2 separate regions of the Homo sapiens genome follow, and region 2 is linked to region 1. The links are contacts of gene promoters, found by promoter capture Hi-C in human tissues and cell types (Jung and others, 2019). All regions are on one chromosome and are shown on one strand. The core of a region is centred on a gene start or on the middle of the fragment in contact, and the rest is flanking DNA. Distances in the headings are between cores, read along the strand shown. Region 1 holds the start of SORCS1 (sortilin related VPS10 domain containing receptor 1). Region 2 has its middle 110 kb from the start of SORCS1.

What was found. The method cuts DNA at HindIII sites, captures the fragments that hold promoters and counts their contacts. A contact is called where the count stands out against the background at its distance.
Region 2: a contact is called between a fragment that was not itself captured here and the fragment with the promoter of SORCS1 in region 1, in 2 of the 25 tissues and cell types used here (heart right ventricle and mesendoderm cells).

The regions. Positions count from the first base shown.
Region 1 is chr10:107,163,230-107,169,432 of GRCh38, reverse strand. SORCS1 (sortilin related VPS10 domain containing receptor 1) reads left to right here and starts at 4,727. Exons shown (of 26, transcript NM_052918.5): 1 at 4,727-5,464. The coding sequence starts at 4,907. RefSeq lists a silencer at 4,818-5,011. The HindIII fragment of the contact is 4,558 bases long and covers 2,169-6,203 here.
Region 2 is chr10:107,274,369-107,280,762 of GRCh38, reverse strand. No RefSeq gene overlaps it. Among named protein-coding and RNA genes, the nearest start is that of SORCS1, 110 kb to the right of the region's middle. The HindIII fragment of the contact is 3,812 bases long and covers 1,451-5,262 here.

The sequences.
Region 1 (6,203 bases), core at 3,478-5,977:
ACTGGATTCAGAGCTAGGTCTGTATTTGTTGATACCTGAAAGTATTTTAAGGGACAGATTTTAAAAATCCCATCATTCTGTTGGCAGGCAATGAGAATAGCCTGCATATTATTCTCCCCAGTTTTCTTTCTGTGGTTCTTCATGAAATTGATCTGAAATGCAAGACAAGACACTTTGTCTCAATGGTATCCAAGGGGAGCCAAATATTTTGAGAACTATTAAAAGACATTGTTCAAACGATGAGGCATATAAATGTGATTTAGTGCAAACTGAAGCCAAAGTAGCCATCAAAAATCAAGAGACTTAGGAAAAAGGGAAGACAAAAAACCAATGAGACAGTTAACCTGTAGCTTATGCTGTAAGATTATGTGGGGAGTGGTTATAACATTCTCTTTAACATTACTTCCCACACACAAAATAAAAGCAAATAGAAATGGGGAGTATATATATTCCCCTCAGCCTAAAAAAAGTGCACACTTGTTCCCAAAATTGCTTGCTCAGCATTACTAAAAATGTTTCAAGCCAATTAGAGTGCCTGACACATAGAAAATCATCAATAAGTGTTATCTGTTATTAGTTGGATTTGGAGTAAAACAGTATTTCATAAAATCAAGAACATACTGGGAATAAGAATGCCTACGTAGAAACCTTGTCTCTTTGCACTAATTGCTGTGTGACCCTAGTTACTTAATATCATCTGTGAAGTGGGGAGAATGATAGTACTTATGTGATATAAGCTTTGTAAAAAAAAAAAAAAAAAAAAAAAGGCATGAGCTGGTACATTTAAACTCCATAGCATAGTTTCTGGCATAGAGTATATATCTGATTTACAAAGTACTAGTTACTAAGAGTTGTGCTCCTAGGCTTGTTATACTGGTGCCACCCAGCTAACCAGCCATTATTTATTGAGCACTTAATTAACTAGGCACTGAAAGAAATGTTGAAATGAGGTTAATGTTGAAAATAAATGTTGAAATAAGGAGCACAGGGCCTTTATCCACATGTGGATTTTTTGGAAGTTATTAACAAAAAACAGGTTTAAGTAAAATAATTAAATGCTGTAATATACGCTTAGAAAGATCTGGCAAGAGATTGATACAGAAAATGTGGAATAAATTTCTTCTGTAGGCAGAGGTTCAGGAAAAGTCTCTCTAAGGTTGTATATTTAAAGTGAAGGTCTCAAAAAAGAGGAGTCAGCCATATGAAGTGGGGTTGGACGGTGGACGTTCTAGGCAGGCGGAACAGCATGTGCAAAGGTCACGAATTGGAAAAAACTGGGCACATCAGCGAAAAGGATAGCCCCTAATGGTTGGCGTATTAGGATGAGGGTAGAGAATCCTGCCAAATGTGATGGAGAAGTGAGTACTTGGTCAGCCATGGTAAGGAGTTTGGATATTATTCTGTTTGTGATGGTAAGCTGGCAGGAAGTATTAAGCAGTTACAATAAATTATATTTTTTATCCTTTTGAAAGACTACTTTTGCTGCCTTGTAGGGCAGAGTGTCCACACTTTTTTGATTGTGCACACCAATCAGTATACAATGACTAAATGTTCATATTCTTTGTCTTTCTGCCTCTGCTTCTTTCTCTATCTGCTTCTGTCTCTCTCTTTATACATATATATGCATATATATGAATATATATACATATGTTTATATTGTATATAAAACTGTATATAACATAGGTATATTAATCAATAATTAAATATTTTAGCAAGGCTAAATTTTAATCTTTCTGATTAAAACTAAATATATCACCAAATTCTATTATTTTCATCTTGCACAAAAATGGATCACCTGAGTGTGCTTGTGCCCTTGTACTTGTGTCATCTTTGGAGATGACTATTGGAGAGAAGGAACGGAACAGTGCAATTATGGAGTAGAGTGAGCAGTAAGAGGCTGTTGTGGTAGTCCAGATGAGAAATGATGATAACTTAGATGAAGTCGTGGCATATTTGTCACGTGCACAATGAAAAGACTCCTTATTGGAATTACAGATTTATGTTCTCTACTAGCCTTTGATATCAATTACTTTCCTAACAAATGACTCATTCTTATTATATTATATTAATAAAAATCTATTGGATTGCTTAGTGGGTTGTTGGATTGAAAACATCTTGAAATAGACTCCCCTCCATGATTAGCCTATTTATTGGAGTCTTCTAGATAAGGGGAATAATTTAGGAAATTACTGGTACTTTCCGCTTCTGTTTGTTGGCAAAAGTAAACGGGGAGCAGAGCCATAAGAAATAAAATGAATCCATCTATCTACATATGAACAATACGGCTTGCAGCCAATGTCATCCACACTTGTGTAACTTCTGTCTCAAATGAATAATTAAAATCAGGCATTAAAAACTTGCCTGCTCTCTATGAACTCCCAGCAAATGGACTGCAAATGCTTTCATTTTAAAGGGATCATTCTGACAGGTGTGTTTGAAAAGAGGTTGTAAATTCTGGGAAGGAAAAATCTACTCTACTTGTACGAGCATTCTTCAGGAAGCGCTTCCATTTTGAAACCAAAATAACATAAATGGTGGTAGGGCAATGATAGACTAAAGCCAGGAAATCTGAATCCACTAATGTCTTCTTTTCCATTTTGCTTCTTCCAGCCTATATTTGGATGATAATTTATTTGGGTTCTGATTCTTTAATCTGCTTTTCCTTTCTTGGAGGAATTCCCATGTACTTATCCAGACTGGAAAGGAGGTTAGCAGGGCATAGAAAGAAGTCATTAAGTAAATGATCCTGCAAAGCTCTAAAAACCTTTCTGAGGAAAGAAAAAACTACCGCTCTGGGTTTTGACAAAGAACATTTGCAATTTGAGGAGGAGAGAGGACCTCTGGCTCTCCTCTCCTCCATCTAGAGGCCATAGCCTGCCAGACAGCCTTTCTGTTTTGGAGGATTCAGGCATAAAGGAGCTTTTGCTTGTATTTCTTCTTTAACGACAAACAGGACACTCTTTTAGGTCCTTTTAGGTACTCAAGTTTAATGGCTGAGAAGCCTGCCCTCCTTGCATTTGCACTTTTTCTGCGCTGGTCGTAAGAACAAGAACTTAGGCCGATATTTTACAACACCTCTCTGGATTGGATTGATATAACAGACGTTTTCTTGGACATTAGAAAGAATTTCATTAATTGAAGAGTAATTATCACTCTGTATTACTTTGAACTTGGCCTCATCGCAAACACGGTATACAGATTTTTCAGTGAGGTTATTATTCTAGTATGAAAATGAACAAAAATGTAACTAGAAACTGGAATCGGTACTATTTTGTTGTGTCATTCATTTATTCAATCAGTAAATATTCATTAAATAATGTAATAACATGTACCTAAGAGAATATTACGTATATGAAGACTGCAAAGAAATCTGAAACCATTTCAACCCTTAGAAGCAAACTGTCTACTTTAAAAAGGATTGGATTTTGAGAAATCCTTTGCCGTTTTCAAAGCCCATTCACCTGCTATAAATCTTCATCTGAACTTACGAATAGTAGCAGGGTGCTAGGCTGGGCAGATACTATAATCATACAATTATAGAATTTTAGGAGCGGAAGGGATTTTAAAGGTCATCTAATGTGACCATTTAATTTTAAAGCTTAGGAAGCTGACAGATTGTGATTTGTCTGAGGTCCCAAAGCAAACCAGTGGCAGAGCACCATCACAGACTTGCTATTAGGGATCTCAAAGCATGTGGCAGTAGCACTGGGCCAGGCACCAAGTGACACAGAATAACTATAAGTACTGTGCCTCCTTTCCTGTATTTATTTGTTATGCAGATATGCATTAGACTCACAATAAATATTTATTGAACTAATGACTGGCAGATTTCCTCCCATGTAGGGTACTGTGCCACGTACTGAGGAAAATGGTAAACAAAAAACAGGTCACTTCCTCCAAGTTGCTCGAAATTTGATCTTCCTGTCCTCAATGAGTTTGCAGTCTCTTAGGGAAACCAAGATATATACGCTTAAAAAACGCGTAGTGGAAAGCGTTTTCTTAAATATGATTGCATGCAGGAAGATTGGGTTCAAATTCAGTGAATGCTTTAGGAGGTTAGGAGAGAAATCTAAGCGTTAAAATTGATGGGAAAAAAAATCCCCCAAACTAACACACACACACACACACACACACACACACTCACACACGAGATCATTTAATTACATCACTCTCTGCTGCTGCCTTTCCGGGATCTCCCCCCAGGCTGGGACACACAGGCTCTGCTGCGGGTAAGGTCAAGATGCCAACTCAGGAAGCATAAGAGAGGGAAGGAGCAGAAGCCCACCCATCCCTATCTCCTCAACTAGAAAAGACCAGAAAGACGGAGAAAAAAGGAAACAGCAACATAGACTCATAGAAACAATAAAGCAGGAATAGGAAGCTCCCGACACATCGACTGCTCCGGGAGCCCGGGGTCGACCGCCCCCGCGGGCAGGGTGCGCGGACTCAGCGCCGGGACCCGCGGCCGCGGGGGCGCAGAGTGGGCGGCGGGGAGAGGCGGCGGCAGCGCCTGCGAGGCCGAGGGGAGGTCGCCGGCGGCGCCTCCAGCGCCCGGAGACCCGGTGCGCAGCGCAGCTCGGCCGCGGGACGCGGCGCCCGGAGTCCCGGCAGCGCCTGCCCTCCCTCCCGCGTCGCCCGCCAGCGCCCGCGCCCGCTCCGCCAGTGACTTCAGCTCAGCTCCACCCCCGCGCGGCGGCGGCTCGCTCCGTCCGGACCCGCGCTCGGCACAAGCCCAGCCCGGGCAAGCGGCCGCCACCTGCCCGGCGCCGCCTCCGCCCGCCCCCACCGCGGCGCAACTTGGATGGAGTTGGGGTCCTGAGCGCCGGCCCCCCACAGCCGCCAGCGCAGAGCTCGTGCCGCCACCTTCGTTCTGGGACCCCTCTCTCCGCTGCTCTTCGCTCCCGCGATGGGAAAAGTTGGCGCCGGCGGCGGCTCCCAAGCCCGGCTGAGCGCGCTCCTCGCCGGCGCGGGGCTCTTGATCCTCTGCGCCCCGGGCGTCTGCGGCGGCGGCTCCTGCTGCCCCTCGCCGCACCCCAGCTCCGCTCCACGCTCGGCCTCGACCCCTAGGGGCTTTTCCCACCAGGGGCGGCCAGGCAGGGCTCCTGCCACGCCCCTGCCCCTCGTAGTGCGTCCCCTGTTCTCAGTGGCCCCCGGGGACCGAGCGCTATCCCTGGAGCGGGCTCGGGGCACTGGGGCATCCATGGCGGTTGCTGCACGCTCCGGCCGGAGGAGACGGAGCGGAGCGGATCAGGAGAAGGCAGAACGGGGAGAGGGCGCGAGTCGGAGCCCCCGGGGAGTGCTAAGAGATGGAGGGCAGCAGGAGCCTGGGACTCGGGAGCGGGACCCGGACAAAGCCACCCGCTTCCGGATGGAGGAGCTGAGACTGACCAGCACCACGTTTGCGCTGACGGGAGACTCAGCACACAACCAAGCCATGGTCCACTGGTCTGGCCACAACAGCAGCGTGAGTAGAATGGGACTGAGGGTAAAGGGGTGGAAAGATGGAAAGGGTTAAAGTCGGCTGTGTGATCTGATGGAGAATTGGGGGGAAATAGGGTTTCTGGACATGGGAGATGCTGCAAACTGGTCTCTGCCCACTTCCCCCAAGAGTTAACATCACCTACTAGGAGACCAACCTCCCCATCTCTCCCACCAACACCATCAGAGTCCTCTCCAAATGCCACAGCTTCAAACTGAGGAGTCAAATCCCTATTTCCTGTTGCCTTGGTCGCATTGGTGTGTGGAACTGAAGACCAGGTAAACAGAGGGGTTAAAGTTCTCCTAATACAGAGATGAAAGGGTTAAATTTCCAGGCAAGCTGACATCCCCTCAAGTGACTTTCCCTTTACTTGCCAGACCTATGTACTGGCTCAAAGAAGATTAAGAAGACCCATATATGTAGGCGTTTTATTTTATTTTATTTTAATTTCATGCGGAGCTCCTAACCCCTTCTTCTCCACAAGGGAGAACTGCAGTGGAGAGTATATAAGGTGTTCTTTAGTGTATCCTCTGCTTTAGGGACCAAGTGGATGCAAGTTTCAGGGCAGGAACTCTCCAGCATCTTCTAACAGCGCTAAGCGAGGGTGTTTTGAGAACTGGGGCTTTCCAGCCCGTGAATGAGCGGTTGTTCTCTGGCATGGTCAGTCCCAGGAAGATCAGATATATCCCAGTGACAACAACTCCCTGTTCTCCCCCATTGCCTG
Region 2 (6,394 bases), core at 2,107-4,606, 110 kb before region 1:
ATTAAGAATATTTTCTGTCTTCCAATTTACCACAGGTAAGAGAGAGATTTACCAAATATTTTGCCACCACATAAAATGGATTTCCACTTTCCTAGCTTCAAATCAGTGTTTTCTCACCGATTACTAACAGTCCTAAAGACAAGATTTGAGACATCTGTTACGTTAACACTTTACTTTCAGTACCAATTTCTTTATCAGTCAACTATTGCACAATAACATTACATATTACATCATGCCAAAGTGTCAAAAGATTACAACAACAAGTACTTATTCATATTTTATGGGTCTGCAAAAGGACTTTAGTCTGGGTTATGTAAACTGGCTTAGTTCCAGGTTGCAGATTTGGTTTATGTCTACTTCATGTACATTTACTCTGAGGTCCAAGCTGAAGGAACAGTGGCAATGTAGAGTACATTCTTCTAATGACAGATCACTGGAGCATAAAAGGATAACCGTCTGAGCACAGTTAAAACTTTTGCTTCTGCCATATCCATTTAAAGTCCATTAGCCAAAGTAAAGCAAATCACATGCCAATGCCCAAAGGATAGTATCCACCCAACACAAAGGCATAACAACAGTGTGAATGTTATTGTTCTTCTACAAGGAAGTGACAAATTAGAACCAACAATTTAGTCTACCATAACATCCAATACAAGTTGGGCCAATCGAAAAACTTTCATTGATATAGAACAACTACTCTTGTTCTACACAAAGAACAGCCCTTTCTACCATGTAATTAAGTGTGAGTGTAGGGGAAAAGCTAGTCTCCAGAGAATGACAAAAATGATCATATAAAGCAGAAATGTGAGAGGCCCAAGGAGCTCCCTACATGCCTAATACCTTTCCCTTTTCTGCTTCCATTCCTTCCTGAGACTCAGAACCTGTCTTCTGCCTCATTGTGACCTTCTCTTAACCTTTAAGTATATTTTAATTTTAATCTTAAACTAGCTCAAGAGGTTTTCCTACAACTTAAAACTAATTACCAATGAATACAGAGGGATATCTGTTACTGAGGGTCAAAGTCCTGTATTAGATTCTCAATGGGCACAACATCTCATCCCTGGCCAGTGTAAAACTAGACTAGAGTGTTCCTCAGGTCACTTTTAGCTTAGAAGTTCTAGAGGACGTTCCCTTGAGTGATTTGGCTGACATGGAGAATCTGTGCCTTCATCACATTAGCAAGGGTTGCCTAGTCATTGAATACCACTCCAAAAATAGATGGATAACTTAACATACTCCAGTGTTTCACAGACAACTCAAAGCGTGTATACCCTCCTGGTAAAGCATAAAGATTACCTCAGTATCCACCAAGTATCTTCTTTTTAGGTTCAGAGTAAGCACATTAATTCCAGTTTATTGTCATTTTAATGCACACACACATACACACACAAAAAAACAATAAATAAATAAATAAATAAAAATAAATATTTTTTTATAAACAATAAAAAGGAATAAACAGCCCAGTGAGTTTACTTTATAGATGAATGTCTTTGCAGTTAGCAATGAGCTGAATGTAGTACATGGCTCTGGGTTAAAATCACTTTGTTGTTTTCTAGGCACAGGACCATTCAATCAATCAACTTCACTCACTCTCCACTTCCTCAGAAAACTGGATGATGAGTTGAAGGATCATGGCCTTGGAGACATTGCTGATGAACATGGCAGAGATGCTGTCTCCCCCAAAGGACAGATAGCAACAGTCTGATATAAGCAAGATTTATTTTTCTTATTTAGTCAGAGAGCTACCCTACTGAAAGATACATGTGAGTTCCAGGTTCCTTCACACATCCCAGAACAAAATCTCCTGCAGTCTATACTGAGATGGACTATAGAGTTCTCCAGAATCTGTAGAGTTGGACTATAGAGTTATCCAGAATCAACTTATCCAGGTGTTAGATCCAGCCACTTAACAAAAGATATGGGATGGTACCAGTCTCTTTCCCTCTTGGGGTGGCAGTGTTATTTACATCAGAGTGAGTTGGATTGGAATACAATATACATAATTTACTAGTGACATGACATTAAGCAAATTACTTAACCTCTTTAAGGCTCATGTGTAAGGTGGTGATAATAATGCCTGCCCCATGAAGCTATTGCATTATAAGAAGATGATATGTGCAAAGCATTCAGCACAGTGTCTGACAAATAGTAAGATTTGTTTTTATCTCCCCTGCTATTTTCTGTTATCTTGCCTTGTTGCAGTAACATTATATATGGATACAGTATGGATGATACACCTTTTTAGGAGAAAATAAAGGCATTACGTTTTGACAGTTTAATATGTATTGATCTTTCCTTCAGCCTTATATGAGTATTCACTGGACTACAGCAGGTGTCTCCCTCTCCAGACTCTCTAAGGTATTCTGACTTATGTGCTATGTCTTCATAGAATATTAGAGAAAAAGGAGCTTTAGAGTTATTTATTTTACAGATGAAGAAAGAGACACCTGAAACGATGAAGTAGCTTGCTAAAGTCATTCAGCTAGGTGGTAGCAACACAGGATTAGACTCTATTCTAGACCACATTTCACTTTGCCATCCAACCTAATGTCTAAAAACAAAGTCACAAGTTTCTCTGGTTAGCTCTCTGCTAATTTTTTAGCTAAAACCACAATAACAAAAATATAATAACAATAATGAAATGAAAAAGGGTCTTTTTCTTTCACTTATTCTTAGCTTCAGATTATGTGCTTATATATTAAAACTAAGGTTTCACAAGCAGAAGACAGAAACACAAATAACTTTGGGTGGATTTCAGAAATTAGTGTGAACTAAATCAGTCTATAAAAACCAAATACCTTAAAAATCAATAATCTTTGAAGGATCCACCACAGAGTCCAATAAGAGAAGACAGAGGCCCTCTCAGAACCCGCAAGAACCTTAGGACCCAGGAACACTCAGCAGGGAACCTACAGTATGACTCAAAAACAAGCTTAGTTAAAACACACAGCAGTGAACAAAGCTGGACCACCTGCATGGCTGAGACCTACTATTTGATTTAAAGAAAGAAAAAAAAAAGAAAAGAAAATCCCATTGTTTTAGTTAGTCCCAGGAGAGCTATGCTGTGGTTGCTTTAACATCGCATGAGAGGGTGTCTGTATAAATTAGCCAGGCCTGAAAATTTAAAGCTGTTCAGCAGTAGGACCAAAATATATAAGAGGCATTGGTAGGATGTGCCTGGAGATTATTAGTACTGGAGGTGAGAATAATGAAATGTGACTTAGATGCAGAGAATGACTGTTTTCACACTTGACATAACTTTCAGCCATGTTTTATGCTATGCACAAAGAAAGCAAAGAGAATAGCTAAAGATGCTACATTCTGAAGATAATGACTACCAGAAGCATCAAAATCTCACTGTCTTTTGGGTAAAACAGGCAGTGAGTACAGCAGAGTCTAGGTGAAAGGAAATCTACAAGGATTGAGGACATCACAGGAAACTGGGATCATTTCCCCCAGATCCCACAGATTTGGGCTGAGCTCTGTACCTCATCTCTGATCATCTTTTATTGGATCTTTAGCCGTTCGATTTAGGTTGTTACAGTATCATGCTTGGCTAAACTTTCAATTCCAACTCATACATTTTCTAAAAATTGTGATTATAAAACCCTATTTCTGAAATAGATTCATTGTTTTCAACTGTCTCTACCACTTTGTGTGGAATGCTCTTCACCAATGCAGACTTAGTACAATAACTATTTTAAGCAATTTTTATGCTTTTGCTTACATAATTTTCAAGTTCCTGAGTCTTCCTATTAAAAAGCCCATCAAATATTTTTTACTCCCTCATATTTTTACAATACCCATGTCCTTTTATCCCAGCAACAACTCTGGAATAGATTTCTCCTCCTAAAATTACTAGCATTGCCTCTTTTTAAAATTGACACCTGTAAATGCTGGATTTTAAATTTACCAGTTCACTGTATTCACATCTTTGAATAATTCAGTTTCTGAATGTGGAGAAATTTTGCCTATCTCTAACAGGGAATCCCTTCACTCATCTAATCCAGTCTGTACATCTACATGAATTTGGATCTCTTAATTGATATATCACACCAATCCATTAACTGTAGACTACTCTGAGAAACTATTAATTTTCTCAAGACATAGGCAATTATTGTTAACCTTAACTAGTATTATAACCATTTTTTGCTGGTAAATGCTTAGCAACAGACTCTCAAAAAAAATAGCCCTGATTTCTAGTGTTGGCCACTTTTCATGATGTAAATACTCCCACCATTTCTGACTCCGTATTACATATTTGACATGAATGGACAAAGTTGATCAGAGCATACGATCAGCTCTCACAAGACAATATAACCCAGCCCCAGCACACCACTGAATAGAGTTTACTTAACAGTGCACTTTCTGCTGTAAAAAAGTAAATTTATCCTTTTTAGTGTTTACAGATTGAATTAGAAATAAAACGTACACACAATATACACAAACACAAACACATATGGACACATATATGAAAAGATACAGAAGCATAGGAGAAATTGTCCACCATCCACAACAGAAAATGTAGCTATTAAGTAGAGATATTCTATGTGTTTGGAGTGTGGGTGTTCTGTTGTATAAACAGGAATTATAACAATATACTAGCACACAGTTGGAATATTTCTTTGATGACTTAAAAAGGCAGCACACATGTTTCTATGTAGAAAATGCTTTGTTTTCTCAATTCAATTATTTTTAATGGTCTCACAAAGGTCTTTGAATTTGGGCAGTTGCTCTCCATTCATTCTCAGATGTGGTTGTAACATACAGTGACTAATCCAACAAAAAGCTGCTCATTATGTACTCTGTAGCAGCACGGCCCTAAGGACCAGTGGTACCAGACAGTGAAATAGACAGGGTTCTGTCTTCATAAAGTTTTCTTTCCAGCAGGAAAAGATACATCTGCGTGTTTAGTTATGCAATAGTGTGATTAACTATAATTGCTTTGGGGGAAACGTATAGGATCTTATGAGAACTTATGACAGAAAAACTGATCTAGTATGGGAGTAAGGGTGGTCAGAACTTTTCTCTGAGGATGTGATAATTAAGCAATAATACAATAAGTGAGGTTTCATTGGAGAAAGAGGATGGTATTGGATAGCACAGTAAAAACAAGGAAACTGCAGCATGTGGAGGCCTCTTAGGTGTGGAGGCATGTGCCACTCTTTAGGACATTGCTCATGGCCAGTGTGGACAGTATGCAGGGAAGATGGCCAGAGATGAGGCTGGAGAGACAAGCAAGGGCCAGATCAGTCACAGTCTGCTGTTAAAGATTTCGAATTTTATTCCAAAAACGACATTAGTTGTGCTAGGAGATGGAGGGAGGGTGAACAAAAGAGTAAAAGGCGGGAAAATAGGGTCTGGAGGCAGGGAACATAAGGCCAATCGATTCACACTTCAGCTGTGACAGGAAATATCCTCTCCATAGGGCGTAGACCAAGTAAATGACCTTGTAACTTCATCGTCTCCATTTACATAGGGCATACACCAAATAACCGATGGAATCCTCTAGGGGGTAAACTCCCAAAAATTCCGTAACAGGGCTTTTGAGCTCCTATGCTTGGGCCTGCTCCCACACTGGAGTGTACTTTCATTTTCAATAAATCCCTTCATTCCTTCCTTGCTTGGTTTGTGCATTTTGTCCAATTCTTTGTTCAAAATGCCAAGAACCTGGACACCTTCCACCATTAACAAAACTATGGCATCAAATGGATGTAAGATGAAACACGTCTTGATTCCTCTTAAAACATTGCTGTTTGGGGTGATATAAAGAAATATTTCATTGAACATCCCTCCCACACCTGAGTATCTTTGTACAAGCAAACCCCAAGAATGCCATCAGATGCCTTACCCTTTGTGGCACCCACCTGGAAACTCTGCTTCCCACTACCCTAATGGGTTCAGTGGGAAAGAATCTGGTGCTTTTTGTAATCTCTGGAAATGACAGAGCCTTCTTGAGTGCTACCTGCCAGCCTCCTATTAGTTGTAGAAATCTAGTACCTTGAGAACTCACAGTTTCAAAACTGAGAATAGGAGGGAGTTTTCAGGGATAGGGGAAGGGAGTGAAGTGGTTGTAGGTGAAAAAAGCAACAGATATGTTACAATTTTAAATTTGGAAGAGATAAATCTCATTCAAAACCACCTTTCTCGCTCCATTCCCCAAACTCTCCAGTGCTAATGTTCCAGTTTTTGTTACGCAGATTAACATAGGTACAAATGGATTTTTAAATGGTTAAATATCAATTTGAAGTTAACAACCTGAGACTGGACCACATGCACGGAAGTTACCAAAATCAGAACCTTGAGGTTTGTTTCACACGGAGACTGAAGAAATTAGACAGGGAATTTGCTATTGATTCTTGGCTGCTAGTGCCTCCTCAGATCCATTCGGAGA